Regions from separate parts of the Homo sapiens genome. Here region 1 is linked to region 2. The links are contacts of gene promoters, found by promoter capture Hi-C in human tissues and cell types (Jung and others, 2019). All regions are on one chromosome and are shown on one strand. Each heading gives the region's core, a stretch centred on a gene start or on the middle of the fragment in contact. The rest is flanking DNA. Distances are from core to core; before and after follow the strand shown. Region 1 overlaps MYT1L (myelin transcription factor 1 like). Region 2 holds the start of TMEM18 (transmembrane protein 18).

Region 1 (3,326 bases), core at 327-2,826, 1.1 Mb after region 2:
TTTTTTTTTTTTTTTTGAGAGGGTCTTGCTCTGTCACCCAGGCTGGAGTGCAGTGGCCCGATGTCGGCTCACTGCAGCCTCTGCCTCCTGGGTTCCAGTGATTCTCCCGCCTCAGCCTCCCGATTACAGAATTATAGCCTCTGGGATTACAGGTGTGTGCCACCACACCTGGCTAATTTTTGTATTTTTAGTAGAGACAGGGTTTCACCATATTGGCCAGGCTGGTCTTCAACTCCTGACCTCAGGTGATCTGCCCGCCTTGGCCTCCCAAAGTGCTAGGATTACAGGCATGAGCCACCGCACCCCGCCTATAATGTTTTATATATGTATATGACATATGTGTTTATTCTCTCTATACATAATATTGTATTTCACCTGTATATGAAGTGTTAGATGGACCGTGTCCGTAAGTGGTGTGATGATGTGTTAGTGATATATCTAGAAACACTCTTTACTAGTGCAGGCAGATTACATCATTATTAGAAATATCTCTAATATCTGCATTAATATAATTAAGCTTTCTAAATATTATTTTTGTAATACATTTTCTTTTAAAATTTAAGAAAACAGGAAAATTCATAGCAGAAGAACTTGATCGTAATACATTTTCAACTGGGGATATTAGTGGTTGTTTTTGGGGAAATCCTATCTTTGTATAAAAATATTTCCAGTATTCTTCATCCACACCACAGGTCTAAGTTGTTATTTTTTTGATGTGATGTTTGCATCTCATAATTATAATAGAATATTCATAAAATTCTAAATAATCATTGCTGTTGCCTGACTGTGTCCCCTGAAAACTCGTGCACTGAAATCCTGACCCCCACCGGGATGGTGTTAGGAGAAGGGGCGTATGGGAAGTGAGGAGGCCTCGTGATGGGATCCGTGCCCTTATAACAGGGACCCAGACAGCTCCTTAACCCCTTCTCCCATGTGAGGACAGAGTGAGAAGGCGTCGTCCACCAACCAGAGAGCAGCAGTTGCCAGATGCCGAATCTGCTGGTGCCTCGGTCTCGGACTTCCAGTCTCCAGAACTTGGAGGAATAAATTTCTGGTTTCTATGCTGCCCAAGGTATGGTATTTGTTTTTGCAGCCCTGGAACGTCTAAGACAATCACCAGTATTTGTTGCTCATACCACAACTCTGTGGCTGTGAACTGCTGTGTTTGCTGATGATGTTCCTAGGTTCAGTGGGAGAAGGAGCAGCGGGGACTTTAACCCCAGCGTCATCAGCTCCAGCATCATCAGCTCTGGCGTCATCAGCTCTGGCGTCATCAGCTCCAGCATCATCAGCTCCCGCGTCCTATCCCATCCCAGGGCAAGCCGCACGGGAAGCCCCAGGAGCAGAGAGGCCTCTGGGAACTGGGTGGCCTGACAGGGTGGGCACGGTGGGCGCCCTGGCTTCTCCTGCTTGCCCTGACTGCATCCCCAGGAATCCGGACAGTCCCTGAGGGGGTCCTGGCTCGTGGTTCCCTTTGCTGTTTTTTTGTTCATTTATTTGTTACTAGACATTGGCACTGCTGCTTCTGATGGATCCTCTCACCCTGCCTGCTGCTGTTTACACCGGAAATCCCTGTGCTACTCAAGCTGTCTTTAGTGTGGGGCGTGAACGAACCCCTCGCGTTCCGGAGGGAACAGGCTCCTCTTCAGTCCTCCCTGATGGGGCCTGGGCAACAACCTGGCAGTCGTCCCCACTCCGGGGCACCCTCCTGGGTCTTCTCCTGCCTCCCCATCAGATCCCAGCAGGACGCCCTGCAAATCCGGCTGGGGTGGGGGCTGACACTTCTGCTTCCCTAGCTTATCCGTAAATCTGCTTCTGAAGGCGAGCTGGATATTTTCATTTGTAAAATAAGAAGTTCTCAAAAGATCTGTTAAGGCTCTCCTAAAATAGGATGCTTGGATGTTAACGCCACTTTTCCCCTTCCTGCCACTGGACACACTGTGGCTGTCACACACATCTTCCTGCAGGTGTGTCTGCGCTTTGGCCCCCGCATCCAGGTAGACTCTGCAGTCAGGTGACTACATCTGGCAAGTCCTTTGTGAGACCAGGAGGCCCACTGGACCTCACACCGCACCCCCTGATGCTCTAACGCACATAAGACGTGGAACTGGCTAGGAAAGACTTAGGCAGTCCTGTTTGCTCACTTATGAAATGAGAATAAAATATTGAATTGACTGTGTTTGTGAAGTTTAATGAAAAGAATGTGTATTCTTGAGGGCAAGGATTAAAATGCACTTTTTTGTTCACTGCTCTGTATCCCCATGATGGGAGAGTGCTGGAGATGGAATAGGTGCCCAGTGACGACTTCTGAAAGCATAAAATGTCTGAATGCACTTTGTGATGGCTCAGTGAGTGGAGGCCCAGGGTGAGTGTGAGTGCACCCAGGCTCTGGAAGGTGCAGACTGAGCCCTCAAAGAGGCCTGCGGCAGGATTTTGCAGGACTTCCAAGTTAAGAGAAGACTCTTAGCCGGGCGCGGTGGTTCATGCCTGTAATCCTAGCACTTTGTGAGGCCGAGGCGGACAGATCATGAGGTCAGGAGTTCCAGACCAGCCTGGCCAACATGGTGAAACCCTGTCTCTACTAAAAATACAAAAATTAGCTGGGCGTGGTGGCAGGTGCCTATAATCCCAGCTACTTGGGAGGCTGAGGCAGGAGAATCTCTTGAACCCGGGAGGCAGAGGTTGCAGTGAGCCGAGATCGCACTGCTGCACTCCAGCCTGGGTGACAGAGCAGGACTCCGTCTCAAAAAAAAAAAAAAAAAAAAAGACTCTTGAATGCAGCTGCCGCCCTGGGTTAAGATGAGAGGAGGGCTGGGGTGAGGGCCTCCTGCAGAGGTCCTAAGACTGTGACTGTAGGACAAGGGTGACGCCTGGTCGGTCCACGGTGCGTGTGGCCCAGCCCGGCTCAGTATGATCCTCACAAATGCAGGGAGCAGCTCCCATCTTTCCCCCGCTGAACCTCTCTGGCCTTCCGCCGTCTGAACCTCCGCAGCCCTTTCGACTTTCCCTGTGTTTGCGAATGGCATTGAGGGGCCAGGAGCTGCAGGTGGGGGGGAGAGAGGGAGGGCCACAAAGGCACGCCTCCTCCTCCTTGCCGTCCTCCCAGCGAGCAGCCTCTGCTGTTTGCGCCTGAACCCCCTCCCTTCTCTTCATCACTTCAGTCCAGGTCTGTGCTTCTTTCTCCCTCAGCGAGGCCCCTGGGCCTCAGCCTGGGTCCCATCCGTTCCATCCCACAGCTGAGAAATGGCCCCAGGGGCACAGCTGTGATTGCCCCCACTCCCCCAGGAGAGCTTCCAGCAGCTTCTCTGAGAGCAGCTGCCGATGCT
Region 2 (3,414 bases), core at 915-3,414:
ACCCAACTCTCCTGTGTGCAGCTGGTGCTCAGCACCTCCCTGGTAGGCAACAGGAACTCAACAGATTCCTCTCAACTCTAACATCCAAAAAGTAGTTTTCTTTATAGCTTCCAAGAGTGAAAAACGGGAGTGCCCTGGGAGCAGGCACATGACAGAGGGTTGGGAGGTCTTGTAAAAATATGTATATATTTCGAAGACACAGACAGAACATACACAGTTTCATTTCACACAGTGATCTGAGTTGTGGAGTTTGTGTTGTTTTACTCACCTAGACACAGAAAGTGCCCGATCTGTAGTCTGTAGCTTCGGGAGGACAAGCAGGTGAGGAGCACGCAGAGCGCGTGGAAGGTGGCCAGCCCCATGAGCCAGGGCTCAGTCCAGTCCGTCTGCTGTAGGAACACACCAGCAGACACTCACTGTCCTGCCACTCAAGGCCGGGTTCACGGCCCACCCACAGCCTTCTCCCAGCGCAGGAGGCAGGGGCCTCTCACTCCTGAGTCCTCCTGGGCTACTCACCAAGTATCCAGAGAGCATTGCCAGGCCTCAGAGAAACATGGGGACAGGAAAGGGAGAAGGAACCAGGAGGATGGAAACAGGATTCTCCCCTCAGTGCAACTATAATTCATGGAATTCAAAGTTCAAGCACACAGAACTGAAGGCATCTCTGATGTGCTCCTTTCGTTTGTGGAACAGAATCATGTTTTTAAGGTGGGTATAATTAAAGGAATTACCATCCTTTACGATGATAATTGGTTATGATAATTGGTGACGACAAGGAAATTAAGACGATTGCTCAAAGAGATGCACTTGGCTCAGCCCCAAAGGTAAAACATGAATCATCATTTCAGACTCCTTAGTCAGCACTGAAGACCTCAGGGAATCTTGAGCCATCGCCACGTGCAAGACTTGATTTTCTCCAACCTCTCTGCAATACACTGAACTCTCCAGACAGTGCCGCACTCCGCCGCCTCCTGGACTCCCCGGGACCCTGCTGTACCTGGGGACAGTGTCTGGCTCAGGGACCTGAAGTAGCCAGGCTCAGATCCACTGCTGCTCAGTCCCCACCTGATGCTCAGATGCCAATCCCAGCAGTCCTCAACCCTCCCCATCCCCTCCTTGAGCGCCCTCCTGCAGAAGACAAGCCCTGCCCTCCAAGCTGCAGCCCCGCCCTGCCCTCCAAGCTGCAGCCCCGCCCTGCCCTCCAAGCTGCAGCCCGGCACAGCCCTCCAGAACTCCTGTGTCACTACTCTCTGCTGGGGACCGCAGCGGCTTCTCCAGAGCCGCGCCATGACATAAGGACACAAGCGCATCTACTCCCATCAATGCACCCACCAGAAGACCAGAGGCACGGAGGTGAGGGGAGCACGGCTTTCTGCCCAGACCCCATCGAGTGCCCATGTCACCCCTTGGCGGCCACGTGGGGCGTGGGCTCCCCTGGGATCTGTCAGACGAACCCGGCACGGCGCACGCCCCGCCCACACTGGGCAGCGTTCCTCCGTGCCACCCCACACGATCAGGCTCCACCACGCACGCCCCGCCGCACTGCCAGAATCCGCCCACATGGCCCAAGCCCCGCCCGCAAGACGCTGGACTGGCCGGCGTGCACCTCCCACACGAACAAAGCCCTACCCCTCGCGCTCCGCCCACACAACTCAGCCACGCCCGCACGGTGCAGGACGCCAGCCCAGCCCAAGCCCGGGCCACAGAGCGCCGGAGCCAGCTCACTGCGCACGCTCCTCCACAAGGCCCCGCCCGGCCCCGCCCCTCCCCGCCCAACGGCCCAGGACCCCGCCTAGCGCTCGCGCCCCGACGCCCGGCCCCGGCCCCCTCCCACAGGGCCCAGGACCCCGCCCACAGCGCGCGCCCCCGACGCCGGCCCCGAGCCACTCCCACAGGTCTCAGGACCCTGCCCAGCGCGCGCGCTCCGCCACAAGGCCCCGCCCACGGCCGGGGCCTTCTTGGCCACAGGCCGGGTGCTCTGTGGGGCCTACCCTACGCCTCTCCGCCGTCCTCCCCCGAACTGGTGGTTACGCGGGCCGCGAGTTACCGTGAGCACGGCTGGGATGCTGACGGGGAAAGAGCTGACAGAGAAGGCGGACGGCATGGTGTTGGGAAGCCCGCTCTCACAGCAACCGCCGAACCCGGCCTGGCCAGAATCCACAGAGGAGGGCGCCAAATCCTCTCTCGTGAGATCTGCCCTTCTCACGAAACTTGCGCTTGCTTCCTCTCGCGGTAATTTCATGGCATTGCTAGGTCCAGATATCGCGATATTTCCTGGTGGTCGCTGTAATACGGAAAACTTACTACGCTGCTGTGGGACTTGTGCTCGCTCCGCCAGGAGGCCGAGGGCGTCTTTAGTTCGTTAACAGAGGAGCAGGCGGAGGCGGGTGGAATTTAGGAGGTTTGTTTCAAAGGCTCAGGGCGCTGTACCGCCACGCCAGCCCTGTCCCACCTGGGACTCCCTAGAAGGGTCAGAGCATCAATGAGGACGGTGTCCGCCCCGAGACCCTGCAGGAGCCGGGGACATTGCCCACTCCTCGGACCCTGCAGGACTTGGGAAGGTGTCTGCTCTCGCGACCCTAAGGGCAGTGCACTCTTAGTCTGGGTCAGCTTAGGGTTATCTGTCTTCACTTTGGAGATTTACCAGATGTTCTTACGCTTCACTTCGTTGTTCAACGACAGATACAAAAATATAAAGTTAATTTTCTTCCAGCGAATTTTTTCCCTTTATTTTAACATCTATACCCCAACTTTGACATTTTCAAATTAAACATTCTGTTATTTTAACATCATGAATTATTAAGTGTATATACTTTAATTGCATATGTTAGCTCTTGAACTAGTTTAATGTTTCTAAAAATAGTTCTAGTGGTGGACTTTTTTTTTTTTTTAATAGCTTTAACCCCTCCCAGATCTTTCTTAAAATCTTTCCACAGTGTGGTCATTTCTGCTTATGCTACTTAACATGCATTCTCTCATTTCAGTGTAGAAGGTCATGGTTTCTTCTTATGGGAAAACATTTCTTTCATTGATATTTTTCTCTATTCTTCCTGTATTCAACTCCAGGAACATCCCGTTAGGTAGATAGTGCATCTTCCTCTCTTTTGTGTTTCTCAACCTTCCTCTCAAAACATCACGACTGTTGTTGCTGAGTTTGGGAAATCTCGGGCTTGGCTTTCCTGGTTTTTTTTTTTTTTTTTTAAGACGATGTCTCGCTCTGTCGCCCAGGCTGGAGCACAATGGTGGGACCTCGGCTCACTGCAACCTCCGCCTCCTGGGTTCAAGCTATTCTCCTGCCTCAGCCTCCCGAGTAGCTGGGATTACAGGTGTTCGCCACCTCACCTGGCTAATTTTTTTTGTATTTTTAGTAGAGACGGGGTTTCACCATGTTGGCCAGGCTAGTTTTGAACTCCT

Evidence for each region. Contacts are between HindIII fragments. The study calls those that stand out against the background at their distance.
Region 1: a contact is called between a fragment that was not itself captured here and the fragment with the promoter of TMEM18 in region 2, in 1 of the 25 tissues and cell types used here (IMR-90 fibroblasts).

Annotation. Positions count from the first base shown.
Region 1 is chr2:1,810,131-1,813,456 of GRCh38, forward strand. All of the region lies in intron 21 of MYT1L (myelin transcription factor 1 like), which reads right to left. Among named protein-coding and RNA genes, the nearest start is that of PXDN, 67 kb to the left of the region's middle. The HindIII fragment of the contact is 3,644 bases long and covers 1-3,326 here.
Region 2 is chr2:675,242-678,655 of GRCh38, forward strand. It overlaps TMEM18 (transmembrane protein 18), which reads right to left and starts at 2,165. Exons shown (of 5, transcript NM_152834.4): 1 at 2,048-2,165; 2 at 269-389. The coding sequence starts at 2,104. TMEM18-DT (TMEM18 divergent transcript) reads left to right here and starts at 2,131. Exons shown (of 3, transcript NR_183417.1): 1 at 2,131-2,232. RefSeq lists enhancers at 1,440-2,205, 2,108-2,207, 2,238-2,307 and a silencer at 1,698-1,947. The HindIII fragment of the contact is 18,361 bases long and covers 1-3,414 here.